4 separate regions of the Homo sapiens genome follow, and all the other regions are linked to region 2. Evidence: promoter capture Hi-C in 16 types of primary human blood cells and fetal thymus (Javierre and others, 2016). All regions are on one chromosome and are shown on one strand. The core of a region is centred on a gene start or on the middle of the fragment in contact, and the rest is flanking DNA. Distances in the headings are between cores, read along the strand shown.

The links. The method cuts DNA at HindIII sites, captures the fragments that hold promoters and counts their contacts. A CHiCAGO score of 5 or more calls a contact.
Region 1: a fragment that was not itself captured here is called in contact with the fragment with the promoter of CHRNA1 in region 2 in 13 of 17 cell types (naive CD8 T cells, naive CD4 T cells, total CD4 T cells and 10 more); the score reaches 17.9 in naive CD8 T cells.
Region 3: a contact is called between a fragment that was not itself captured here and the fragment with the promoter of CHRNA1 in region 2, in 8 of 17 cell types (total CD8 T cells, naive CD8 T cells, naive CD4 T cells and 5 more). The highest score is 10.9, in total CD8 T cells.
Region 4: a fragment that was not itself captured here is called in contact with the fragment with the promoter of CHRNA1 in region 2 in 6 of 17 cell types (naive CD8 T cells, activated CD4 T cells, naive CD4 T cells and 3 more); the score reaches 8.2 in naive CD8 T cells.

The regions. Positions count from the first base shown.
Region 1 is chr2:174,975,348-174,978,835 of GRCh38, forward strand. The region is part of intron 1 of CHN1 (chimerin 1); the gene reads right to left. Among named protein-coding and RNA genes, the nearest start is that of CHN1, 28 kb to the right of the region's middle. The HindIII fragment of the contact is 7,564 bases long and covers 1-3,488 here.
Region 2 is chr2:174,762,606-174,765,979 of GRCh38, forward strand. CHRNA1 (cholinergic receptor nicotinic alpha 1 subunit) reads right to left here and starts at 1,867. Exons shown (of 9, transcript NM_000079.4): 1 at 1,747-1,867. The coding sequence starts at 1,789. RefSeq lists an enhancer at 1,868-2,367. The HindIII fragment of the contact is 3,214 bases long and covers 857-3,374 here.
Region 3 is chr2:174,956,596-174,959,995 of GRCh38, forward strand. All of the region lies in intron 1 of CHN1 (chimerin 1), which reads right to left. Among named protein-coding and RNA genes, the nearest start is that of CHN1, 47 kb to the right of the region's middle. The HindIII fragment of the contact is 2,101 bases long and covers 514-2,614 here.
Region 4 is chr2:174,933,077-174,936,314 of GRCh38, forward strand. The region is part of intron 3 of CHN1 (chimerin 1); the gene reads right to left. Among named protein-coding and RNA genes, the nearest start is that of CHN1, 71 kb to the right of the region's middle. The HindIII fragment of the contact is 619 bases long and covers 1,372-1,990 here.

The sequences.
Region 1 (3,488 bases), core at 194-2,693, 210 kb after region 2:
ATCAGTATTCTTTCATCTAAATTCACTAATTGTTAGTACTTTGTCCTATTTGTTCTCCCTTCTCTATATTATGCCCTCCCCAAGCACTTCAAAGTAAGTTGCAGGCATGCAACACTTCACCTTTAAATCATTCAGCACTTACCTACTAAAAAAACAAGAACCTTCTTCAATACAACCACGAAAACATTATCACACCCAAGAAATTAACCCTCTGTACCTGGAAGAGCAGTCATTACCATTTACCACCCAGGTCCATAAGCTCTTTTAATTTATATAAATTTTAGCCAGGCAAAAAAAACAAAACAAACAAAAAAAAAAAAAACAGAAGCAATGATAAGCTAGAATCTATTTGATATAAACTAGATGTATTTGAAGCCTGGAATCAGTATTTACATAAATGGATATATCCCAGGTTCATACATGACAGAATTAATGAGCAGTTAGTTGATGAGACTTCAAAGAATGCTGCCCTTTTGGGATATATATCTTTAAAACAAACAAAAGTGGCTCACACCTGTAATCCCAGCACTTTGGGAGGCCGAGGTGGGCGGATCACGAGGTCAAGAGATCGAGATCATCCTGGCTAACATGGTGAAACCCCGTCTCTGCTAAAATACAAAAAAAAAAAATTAGCCGGGCATGGTGGCGGGTGTCTGTAGTCCCAGCTACTTGGGAGGCTGAGGCAGGTGAATGGTGTGAACCCGGGAGGCGGAGCTTGCAGTGAGCAGAGATCGCGCCACTGCTCTGTAGCCTGGGCCAACAGGGCAAGACTCCGTCTCAAAAAAAAAAAAAAAAAAAAAAAAAAAAGGACTAAGATTTTGGCTTTCCTGTTTAAATTTTTATTAAAATTTCTGCCATGTTATGTTTCACTATCCTTTTATTACATCTGTAAATTATTCATAAAATGACTTCAAATTTATATAAATTTCACCCAGGCTGGAGTGCAGTGGCACGATCTCGGCTCACTGCAACCTCCGCCTCCCGGGTTCAAGCAATTCTCCTGCCTCAGCCTCCCGAGTAGCTGGGATCACAGACGCCCACCACCATGCCGGGCTAATTTTTTCTATTTTTAGTACAGACGGGGTTTCACCATGTTGGCCAGCCTGATCTTGAACTCCTGACCTCAGGTAATCTGCCCACCTCTGCCTCCCAAAGTGCTGGATTACAGGCATGAGCCACCGCACCCAGCTGCTTCTGGTTTTGCTTGCACTTGCCCTGTCAAAATGCAATCAAGATTCCAGACTTCAAAAGTATCTTCATTAAATTCTAGTTTATCATTACTTCTGGTTTTTCCTCTTGCACTTGCATCTTCAAAACAGAATACCTTAAAGAACTCAGATGGCTCATAATTTTGTTGAAGAAAAGAGAGCCATCTTCTTTGCTCCATAATTGCAAAATATTTTTATTTTTAGATTTATAAAAACCAATTAAACTGATCAATCCAATAAAATCGTTCATTTCTATATCACTCATTTCCTTCCAGTCATTGTTATACACACACCTGTCTTTGGCATCTGTCCACTAAATAACCGCATCAAGTAAATTCTGGTGCACAAACATCATAAAAGATGAAAAAATACTGTCAATGGTCCTATTAGCAAACGGGATGGTCCAGCATCTTGCTGCAATAAAATCCTTCCTGTTGAATGACTATGTGAGTTTGAATACTATTTCTCCTTCTGTCCTTAGACACATTGTTCACTGTCAATTCTTGAGTTTGATGAAATTCACCTTAGACAACTAGGTTGGCAAACTTCTGTGAAGTTTCAGAAAGTAGATATTTTAGGCTGCAAAACAAACCCGCCTGTCTCAACGACTGAACTCTGCTTTTGTAGCAGAAAAGCAGCCATAGACAATATGTAAATTAGTGGACATGGCTTTCCTAATAAAACTCTGACCAGCTTGTCAACCTTAGACCTAGGATATCATCATCTGATAATCTATATTGACATTTCTTCTATATAATCAATTTAACCATTATCATTAGAGTCCAGAGTGCCATTACCTGTTCACCTGATTTGTCTAATAATTAGAAAAATCTTCCTCTGTCAAAGAATTGCTGTTTGCCAATATGGGCTGAAAATAAACAATTAAAAGTTTTCAACTGTGTTTAACAAAGTGTGTTCAATGAAAATTTAACAGACAACAAAGACAGTGTCTTCAGGCTGCCTTTATACCTTGTTGAAGATGATGCAACACCTTGGGCAACGCAATAAGAAAACTGAAGGATGACACAATCGGATCATGTATTTCACAAATACAGAATTCTTTTGTTTGATTTTTATGTTAGTCTTTTTACTTGTAGTATAATTGGGAGTAATTCATAAGCAATGAGCAAATAATTCCTAGGATGATGGAGTGGCAAAATGTTTCAGGATAAGATCACTAAAATCCCTTCATGAGGCTTACATTTCTAAAGGGACCTGTGTGGTAATTGCAAGATATAATGACTTTTGGCTGCTCCAATGGTAGTGGGTTATCAAAATTTATTAACATTAGTTCACTAAAGTTGATATATAACCCCCCATTGCTAAATCTGACTGGCTTTAAAATGAAAAAATAAATAAAATGTTTAAAAGATATAATGACTTTCATTCTATTAAAAACAGGTAAATTGTTTTCTTTGTTCTGTGGAAGACCTCTAAGAAAAAATAAAAGTAATGAAATGTCAAAGTATATAAAGATTTAGAACTGTTCAAAAAAGAAACTCAAAAATTAATATTGGGCAAAAAGGACCCTGATGGTATATTACAGTTTAAACATATCATCAAGTATTTCCAATTACGTGAAAAATGTTATTTTATTTTGTTCTTTGATCCAGGATCCAATCAAGGTTCATGCATTGCTTTTGGTTACCATGTCTCCTTAGTTAGCGTTCTTCAACCTAGAACATTTCCCACTCCTCTAGGTTTTAAAAACATCTTTCATGACAATGACATCTTTTTAAAAATCTAGACCAGCTGTCTTGTAGAATGTCCACAATCCGTATTTCTGTGATTATTTCCCCATGATTCAGATCAGGATCTGCTAGATAATTTGCAAGCCCCTTGTTCAAAAATTATTAAAAATTTCAAAATGGCAGCACAGGGCATTAAACAAAGAATGAGGTCTCTCTGCGTGTGGGCCCTGAGTGACTGCGTAGGTCACATGCCAATGAAGCCAGCCCTGATTCAGGTTAAACATTTCTACAAACCTACTTACTACACAGGTAATGGCTCATACTTTGCCCTGCACCACATTGAGAGACTAATCCATTTTGTAAATACTAATTCCAGGCTCCAAATGCATCTCTAATCAATTCTAGTTTATTGTTATTTCTGGTTCTTTTTTCACTTACATTTGTCAAAATGCAATAAAGATTCTGGATTTTAAATATATCTTTAATAACTTTTGATAGTGTGAAATGTAGCTAACGATACACAATCATTTTAAACTGTTCCCATCATGTTATCCTTTGTCCTTCCAGACTGACCAAACCAGTAATAAAA
Region 2 (3,374 bases), core at 617-3,116:
GGAAAGTGATATGCCGTAAGAAAGACGGCAATGAAGTGCTTGAGATTCCAGAGGCAAAGAAAAGAAAAAGTTGAAATGAAAAGTGCTGTATAAATAGAACAGAGATCACGCTGTGTTAAGCTAACACAGGAAAAGAGTCCCTGATATAAATGACAATTTTGTCTACAAAGGACTGATTCTAAGAAGGGAAACTCAACCACAGTTTCAAAGTGTTCCTTTTGTACCACACTGGTTCCATTTGTATTTGTATGTAGGAAATAGCTCCCTGGGCTGGGCAAAAGAAATTTTGAACTGTTACTAGTCCCATGGATCATTATTATCTTAACCTGATTCTGTATCTCTTGCTACCTTTGGCTAGTTCAGGCTGTGTTTTCTGACTGTGCATGTAATAAACCAAGTCTCCAACTGACCACATTCCAAAATGTATAAATTAAGTGACCTTGGGCAGGTCAGCTTTAGTTTCCTTGTAATAAAAAATTGAGGATGTTGGACTGCCTGATCTAGCTCTAAATTTCTATAAAACACCCATGGAAATCAATGCCAGCAAACTCGAGATTTGACCTAAATACATATCACATACTTCTTTAATAGCTAATCATGCATTTTTGGTTAGCAATAACCAAAATCCTAAGAGATCTCTTAAGGATGTTTACATTAAAGCATATCATTTAAGAATTTTCCTGTGACTGTGGTTTTGCGTGCACGCATGTGTGTGCACGCGCGCGCACACACACACACACACACACACACACATCAGGCCAGCTTTGGCTGGACAGAGTCCAAATCCCACATGATATAATTTATCTGAGTTTAGGCTCTTTCACTCAACTCTGATATTGAAAAAAATTAATAATAAAGCTTTTTGCCTCTTGACCAGAAGGCCTGTGTTTTTCAGAGCAATATTGGAAATGAAAAATCACAGGATGTCAGCCACCTTGTTTCTCAGTTGGGATGATATCACCAGTAAACTTTTATGTGAAGCAATCAGCAAACATCTCCTGTTTCCCTCTAGCGGAAGTCTGGGATTCAGGATGGTGTTTCAGCTGCTGTGTTAGGACACATTCCAGAGTAGAATGCAGGTCAAATGCTGTGCAAGGTTTTATAGTTTCAATTCAAACCCAAACCTATATATAGTAACATCTTAAAAAAAAAAAGTAGGTAGGAATGTATTCATATGGAATTTTTTTTAACTTCAGAAATTTTGAAAAAATTAAAAAATATTTGTCTCTGTGGAGAGAGTTTAGTTATGATTATTAACTGGTTTCTATCTCCAGCACATGTAGCTGTCAATCAGTCCTCTTTATTATTAGAATTCTCCTGGAGCAGTAAAGGGACTTGTTAACTCCATTGTATGTGATTATAAGGCACTGTTCTAAGTATCCATAGTTGTTTAAATATGAACCCCCGGACACTACCATGATCCACAAGTGGTCCAGGTCCTACAAATGGTGCCGAGTGTTCAGAGGGATGAGTCGGCTGCCAGGCATGATGGAGGGAGAGACATGCGTGTCTATCTTGAAGTCTTTGACCAGGCAGTTTCTATTTTAATTAGATAAGGCAAACTAAAAATCTTTATCCAAAAACTCAATCAAGCTAACATCAGGAAGAAACTGACAGAGCAGCCCCTGGTTGGGGAGGCTCTGCCATTCTGTGGTCTCATCAAAGAAGCAAGACTTTGATTTGGGGGCCTCCAGCACTTTAGCCTCAAAGGAGAGCCCTCTCCCCACCCCTGACCCCAGCACTTACCTGAGCAAAGGCTAAAGAGCAGGAGGAGAGGCCAGGGCTCCATGGGCTACCGGAGCTTGTGTGGACCAGGGCAGAGTGGTGGCCTGTGCTTCTCACTGGCACTCTGGCTGGGTGCTTGTCTGCTGGAGGGTTTGGAAAGCGAGTCGGCTCACTAGAGCTATTGTTTTACACCACCTGTTTGTGGGAGCGACAGCTGGGCTGCCCTCAGCCCTGGAGCCCAGGGAGTTACTGGGACTGTACACCATTACAGATATGCCTCACTTTACACAATTGCTTACCCTTGACAAGCTGAGTATGAACTGCATTATATTTTAAATGCACCAGTAGTCAGATCTTAATGAAAAAAAAATGTATAGGAAGGAAGGAATTATTTTAAATGGTGAGCAAACTGCCTCTCTTTTGTGTAAACCAGAACCTCATCTCTGTGGGTTGACTTGATTAGGGTCATTTGGTCTGAGTAGATAGTCAGCTGTTTGTCCTAAACCACAAAAATCCACATTCTGCAAACATGGCTTCAGTTTCATTTCCTCTGCTTCAGTGTTAGGCTGAGGGTGCCGGGGGCTTTTCTGACTGCCTGGATTTCAGAAAAGTGTAGCTGGTGTTGAGTCTGCTGCTGGGAAGCCCCCACGTTGATTGGGTTTGGTTTTTAACAAAGACAGCTTCTTCCATAAAACTGGCTTTACTGGCCCCCAGAGTGGCTGTTCCAACCCCTGCCTCTGTATCAGGCAATACCTATCCCACACGAACCATTAGCTGGAGCAAATTGCCCACGTCCTATGCACTGTGATTCAAGCGAAGAGTAATTATTGGGAAAAAGTGTCCCACCGCATCAGCAGTCGTTCCGGGTTCCTGCCTCCTTCCATCCGTCCCTCTGCCTACTCTCACTCAGGGAAGCAAAGAGCAGAGTGGTTCAGCTTTTCAATTATCTTGCTTGAAAAACATCCTAAAAACCAGCAGTTAGTAATTTCTCAGTCTGAGAAGTATTGTTACCCTAGCTGTGCTTCTTTGCAGGGTGTGAGGTGAGTTCCCAGAAGGAGACAGTTACTTAAAGGTACCCTGCCTGTTCCTTCCAGGCCTCCTTCCCACATGGAACTAGGTGAGAAAGGTCCTCTCACCTCAAGCCCACAACAACATCCTGACAGATCCTCTCATTCCAGTGGATCCAAACAAATCATTAGAGAAGGGGCTTGGAGGGTAGAGGAGAGAGCTGCAAGCTCATACTATTTATATTTTTTGTTTAAACTGTGGGAGATCAGTTAACTGTTTGCTAAAAAAAAATTTGGTTCTCTCCCTTCCATGGAATAGCCCCGTGGCAGAAATACAACCCCCACCCTCTGACCAGCCCCTTCCATCTAAATGGAGCCATGGGACTGACCTCTGGCCAGTGGCATGAGTGGAAAAATGTTCTCAGACTCACAAACCTACCAGAGCTCAGCCCCGCCCTTCTAGTCTTCTGACCGGCTAGAATGGACATGGTCCCAAAGTTAACCTTAGAAACCATGTTCTGAAGGTGGTGTTGCTTTTGACATTCTGAATCCTTGAATGACTGCATGGAGGGGGACCCCCTATCCACCTGCTCACCACCCAGCACTATTTCAATGAAAACAAAACATGCATCGTGCTGAGCC
Region 3 (3,400 bases), core at 314-2,813, 190 kb after region 2:
ACCCCATCTCTACTAAAAATACAATCATTAGCTGGGCGTGGTGGCAGGTACCTGTACCCCAGCTACTCAGGAGGCTGAGGCAGGGAGAACTGCTTGAACCCAGTGGGCAGAGGCTGCAGTGAGCTGAGATCACACCACTGCTCTCCAGCCTGGGTGACAGAGCAAGACTCCATCTCAAAAAAAAAAAAAAAAGAATGAATAACAGATTACATGAATAAATGAATAATGAATGAAATAATGCAGCAAATAGAGTCATTTCTTATTATTCACAGTAATTATATGCTATGAAGTTACCTCGAACACTGAATTTAGCAGCAAATACTGAACCACTGCTCCTGGGGGCAACACAGGGTTAGGTTCCTGTGTGCCTCTGGTCACAACATTTTCATCAACCATTAAATACATAACCTTGTGTTATATGTGTATCTCTTTAAAGACACCTTATTTCGTATATACCGTTGATTCATTAACACTGAACTCACAGCAACAACACTGGAACTCATGCCTGTATGAAGCTTATCTAACACATGCATACTCTCCAAAAGATGTATCACAGCCTTCTTGCTCTTAGGAACACTGTCTAGACAGCACTTTAGCACGAGGCTTGGGGACCATTTTAAATGGCAAAATCACTAAGAACAACAACAATAAAATCCCACAAAAATGTAAAAAAGTGTGGCCCTGAAAAGACCATGAAAAGAGGACTTGTTTACAGCGTGAGAGCTGAAACAAGGCGGAGAACTGCCTTGCTTGGCCACAGCCGGGAACAGGCAGGTCATATGACTCAAATTTTTTACTTCTCTGTGATTATTTGCAAGTGACCACAATGCCTCTGCTAGGGTGTGTGTGTTGGGGGGGGGGGCAGTTAATTATATTGAAGTTTGTCTTAATAAGTAAACCATAATTAACTCAATTGTATTTTTAATACTAGAAAAAATTTGCCTGTAAGCATTCAAGTCATGTTATTATTTCCTTGATATTCTGCTGTTATTATAATTCAATCCTAAGGAGTATGACGTGGAGCGAGTTTCCAGTTTATAACAGGACACCCATATTCTATGTGTGTCTCCACTTCCTTGTGGGGCTCCAAACCATAAGAGGTGGTGACCAGGTACCTCCTGATCCACTGTGAGGGGCTAGGAAGGGAGGGAGCACTCAATGAGACTGGGACCCTATCTAGTAAATAATTTAATCTTGTCTCAGAAGAGGTCTAGACCTTGCCTTCAAAGATAATTTTTGTTTGCCTGGGGCCAGCCAGAGAGTAACTTGGGGCTTTGGGTCACTGGTATCAGTTAAGGAACCACATGGACAGTCAATCAACCATGCTTATGCAATAAAGCCCCAATGAAAGCTCTGAACACCGAGGCCGGGAGAGCTTCTCTGGTTGGAAATATCCCACGTGGATCATCACACATAAATGCAAGAAGAAGCCAGCGACATAACTGTAATCCCAGCTACTCTGGAGGCTGAGGCAGGAGGACTGCTTGAGCCCAGGAGTTCAAGATCAGCCTGGGCACCAAGGAAGGAAGGAAAGGGAGGGAAGGGAGGAAGTAAGGAAGGAAGGACAGGAGGAGAGAAGGAAGGGAGGGAGGGAGGGTGGGCATGTGTCCTGACTCCAAGGAGAGAGGACAATGGAAACTCTGTGTTTTGCATTTCTCCTGGACGCTGTCCTGTGCCTGTCTTCCCCTGGCTGATTTTAATATGTATCCTTTCCCGGCAATAACCATGAATGTAAGTAATGTTTAGTGAGTTCTGTTGAGTCCTTCTAGTGAATTTTAGTCCATGAAGGTGGTTGGGGAACTCCCCCACTCAATTTGCAGTTGGTGTCAAAAGTGAGGGAAGTCTTGGAGATTTTGTAGTTGGCCCTAACGCCTCACAGACCCTGTGCAAAGCTGCACCTATGAGCCGTGAGGGCCTCCCGGAGATCATTCTGACTTTGGAGAAGGTGAGAAAGAAAGGCTAATTCTCAAAGTCCTTACTCTAAGAACTGTGTACTTAGTGCTAGGTGGCGCTTTCTTAGGGAACATCAACCTTTACTTGCTCTGTGACTTTAGAAAATTTACTACCTCTCTGCATCTTAATCTATTTATTTATAAAATGGAATAACAATATCATCTAAAATGGGAATAGTAACAACATAGGTTTGTTGTTGAGAATTAAATTAGGTATCATCTATAAAGCACCTTGTACTTAGGAGACCTTCAGTAAATAAGAACCCTCTCCTGCCTTCACCAAAAGTTATTCTGAAAACACAATATTACCATATTAGCCTCAAGCCGCTGTTAATGATTTCAGCCATGTATTCCCTTCTTACTATCTTGGTCTTCCATGTACACCTGCTCTGTTATAAAAGACATTATTCAAGATGCTACAGATCACAATCATGGCCAAATAAATTTAGTATTTGGCAAAAAAATAAGAAATATTAGGGGAAAAGTTTGAATTTCTTTTAATATTCTTTTAATATTTCTTTTAATATTAAAACAATTCTAATTAATGACATTTAAGAGCACTGTTTAGGTTTTAAATATATTTTCCTAGCAATCTATTTTTTGCTGGTAGAAGTCTAAACTGGCATAACCTCTCTGGAGAGCAATTAGCTATATATACCATAAGCTTAACTGTGTAACAGGTATCTATTAAGGCAGAGATTAGATGAGATGTTCTTTGAAGGAGAACACTTAAAAATTATTTTGGCCTTTCTTATGTTTATGGGTAGAGACCTTAGATCACTGGTGTGGATCCTTTTGCTGAGAGAAAAGCGGCTTGAATGTTCCTTTAGTTGACCAGTGGGTAGGTGCCACTGTCCTTAGGACTCAGGGGAGGAGGGGACACTGGGAGGGGAAAGTTGAATGGCTTAGGAAAAAGTGCCTCAATCTCTTGATATGCAGAATTAGTTGCTGAAGGCAGGAGGACCAATTTTCCAGGACGCTAAATCTTCCTGAAAAGGAAGAAACATTACCCCAATCTTTAATTCCTGAGATTCAAAATTAAAGAGTTCTGTCACAGAAGACACTCATAGCTCAAGCCAAGTCCCACTGGCAAGAAGAGGCAGAGACATTCCTGAAATAAAATGGCCTTGAAGAAGGAATAACTGAAACTGGTGATCTAAGGTCACACAAAAAGCTTCTGCGTTTATCAGGTAGGACAGATTCTGGCACAGCCTAAGGTGGATGCTGGAAGTGTCTCTGACCTCAGCCTCCCTGGTACACTAAATCCTTCAGTAAAAGAAAATGAACTTTTAAAAAACTGCAATCTTGACCTTCAACTGCGGTGACTGCTGTGACCTGGGCCATGGTCTGACCAGAAACAGGATCCTAGTGGCAGTTCAAGCAACTATTGCCAAACAGTGCAGGGCTGGTCTTAAATGCTGAGAAAAAATGATGATGGGAAGGAAGAG
Region 4 (3,238 bases), core at 431-2,930, 170 kb after region 2:
GAGGAAGGTGAAGCTCAGTTCTGTTTTGAACAGGCTATTTCTGTTGGAGATGTCTATTAGACATATGAGAGGGGATGTAGAGTAGGAAACTGGATATATATGTGTGTATATATATAGGTATATAGGAGTTTGGGAGAAAGGACTGGACATATAAAGAAATGTAAGTTACATTAAAACCTGAAACTGGTAAGATCATAATAAAGTAAATATAGGTAGAGAAGAGAAGAGGAGAGGATTTGGGGGCACCCCAAAATCAAGAGATCAGGTTGAAGCAGCACCAGAGAAATAGACTGTGGGGGCAAAAGAAAAAATAAAAGAATGTAGTATCCTGGAAACAAAGTGAGAAAAATGTATCAAGGAGGAGAAAGTCATCACTTGTATCAGATGCTCCTAATGGGATGATGAGAGGAAAAAAAAAACTACTAGATTTGTATGTATAGGGAAGTCAGTACTGACCTTACCAAAGCAGTTCTGCTTGGAGTGGCAGTGGGTAAAGTTCTGAGTGCAGACAGCAAGTACAGACAACACTTTGAAATATTTTCTACAAAAGAAAGCAAAGAAATTGAGCGAGGCAAATGGAGAAAGCAGGGTCAAGAGAACTTTTTAAGATAGGAGAAATAATAGGATATTTGTGGGCTGACGAAAATGATCTTGCAGAAAGGGAAAAGCTGTTGATGGTGGAGGAAAGGAGAAAATTGCTAGGATTATGTCCTTAAGCAGATAGAGAGGAAGTGAGGTTTAGTGTAGTGAAGAGCTAGCTATCACCTATGAGGTTAAGCAAGAATGCAGAACATACAGACACAAATACTGATGGTTGGGTGGATGTGACAGTGGAAGTTTGTGGAAGTTCTCTTCTGATGGCTTTAAGCAGGAGTAAAGTAGGATACAAAATTATGAGCTGAAAATTAGGAGAGGGAGTAAGGTATCAGAACAGTGGTCCCCAACCTTTTTGGCACCAGGGACCAGTTTCGTGGGAGACAATTTTACAATTTTTCTACAGACAGGGGTCAGAGGTGAGGGGATGGTTTTGGAATGATTCACGCACATTACATTTAGTGTGTACTTTATTTCTATTATTATTACATTGTAATATATAATGAAATAATTATACAACTCACCATAATGTAGAATCAGTGGGAGCCCTGAGCTTGTTTTCTTGCAACTAGACAGTCTCATCTGGGGGTAATGGGAGACAGTGACAGATCATCAGGCATTAGATTTTCATAAGAAGTGCACAACCTAGATCCCTTGCATGGGCAGTTCACAATAGGGGTCACACTCCTATGAGAATCTAATGCCACTACTGATCTGACAGGAGGCAGAGCTCAGGCAGTAATGTGAGCAATGGGGAGTAGCTATAAACACAGATGAAGCTTCACTTGCTCACCTGCCTGCTGCTCACCTCCTGCTGTGCGGCCCAGTTCCTAACAGGCCACAAGACGGTACCAGTCTGTGGCACAGGGGCCGGGGACCCCTGTATTAGAGGTTTGAGAAGAGAGAAAGGGCATGACATGAATAAAGGCAGTACAGGGAGCATTAAGTACCAACTTGAAGTTCAGAAATTCCGAAATATTTCATTTTCCTCCAGCCATACTGTTACTTGGCAGAATGTGCAGAATAGGCAGAGATAGCAATAGGGTTGCAGTTTTGCCAAGCAAGTATGACATGAAAGAAGATTAGGAGAGTTGACTGGTTCCTGAAAATCTACTAGACTCCCTCTCATGCAACCCATGACCATCTTGTCAGCAAGTCCTGAGAATTCTACTGCTTTAAATATTCCCCTTTCCTAATCCCTCTTGACTATTCTCAGAACCAGTGTCTTGTAGGTTCTTTTCACTTATCACAAGGACTACTGTAATAGCCTCCTAAACCAGTCTTTTTGTCTCTAAAATATCCATCCTCTTCCCTGCAGCCAGTTGTTCTTCCTAAGCCTAATCAATCACGTTTTTCTCCTGCTTAAAATACTTTCACTTCTATAGTCTAAACTCTAAGCTTAGGACATAGAACCCTTTATTACTAATGCCTGGTTAGCTTTCCGGGCTTATCTTTTACCACTCTCCCACAAGTACTCTGCCCTTGGCCAGAGGAGCTGCATACATATGTATCAAGGTAAGTACTACCAACTCTGCGCTTCTGCACTAAGTAAAGGTTGAGCTACCGCTCCATTCCCCACCTAGACTGGAAGCTCCTTCAGGAGAGGGATTTTGCTTTATTTGACTTGAAACCTGAGGGCCTGGCAGATGGTAGCCCCTCCAAGAATGCTGACTGAATGAACAAATACATACATGTGACAGAAAGAACCAGAGCATCTCTAACAGATATAGGTATTAATGCACACATTTTGTAAGCCATATTATAAGAACATTGTATTGAAAAATAAATTACACAAAGATATCTCATTCATTCATTCCACCCTATAAGCATTTAACAACCTATACTACACACCAGTCAGCATACCTAGGTGCTGAACATAATCTGCTTGGGGGAGACAGGTGAGTAAAATGATTACAGTCAATTTCCTACTTCTATAAGTAGGTCTTTAGAAAAACATTTTTAAAACATGTGTTGGCCTGGCACGGTGGCTCACGCCTGTAATCCCAGCACTTTGGGAGGCTGAGGCAGGAGGATCGCTTGAGCCCAGGAGTTCAAGACAAGCCTGGGGAACATAGTAAGACCTTATCTCTACAAGAAAACAAAACAAAACAAAAAAGCCAGGCACGGCGGTGCACACATGCAGTCCCAGCTACTCAGGAGGCTGAGGTAGAAGGATCACTTGAGCCTGGCAATGCAAAGCCACAGTGAGCTAAAATTGGGCCACTGCACTCCAGCCCAGGCAACACAGCAAGATTCTGTCTCTAAAAAATATATTAAAAGTAAATAAAAATAAAACATGTGCTACCAAAATACATACTCAGTATTACTCTAATTGGTATTGTAGTTAGAATTTGAAAACAGTGTAAATTGTGTAATTTTATCTACATTTCTCATTACACTAATAGCACTGACTTGTGTTTCAGTACATTTTGTCCAGCCTCAGTCTACTTTACCCATTTAGCCTAGAGAAAGACAACCTCATTGTTACTATAATGTGCACCTGTACTCAAAAATGCTATCCAACTCCCTGCAACACTAACTTGAAAAATGTGTCACAGGGAATAGAAATTTGGCTTTATATGTTTAAAAAAAATCATCACTACATTTCCCACTGTGTGGATAGCAGGGGGAAAAGTGCGTCCAC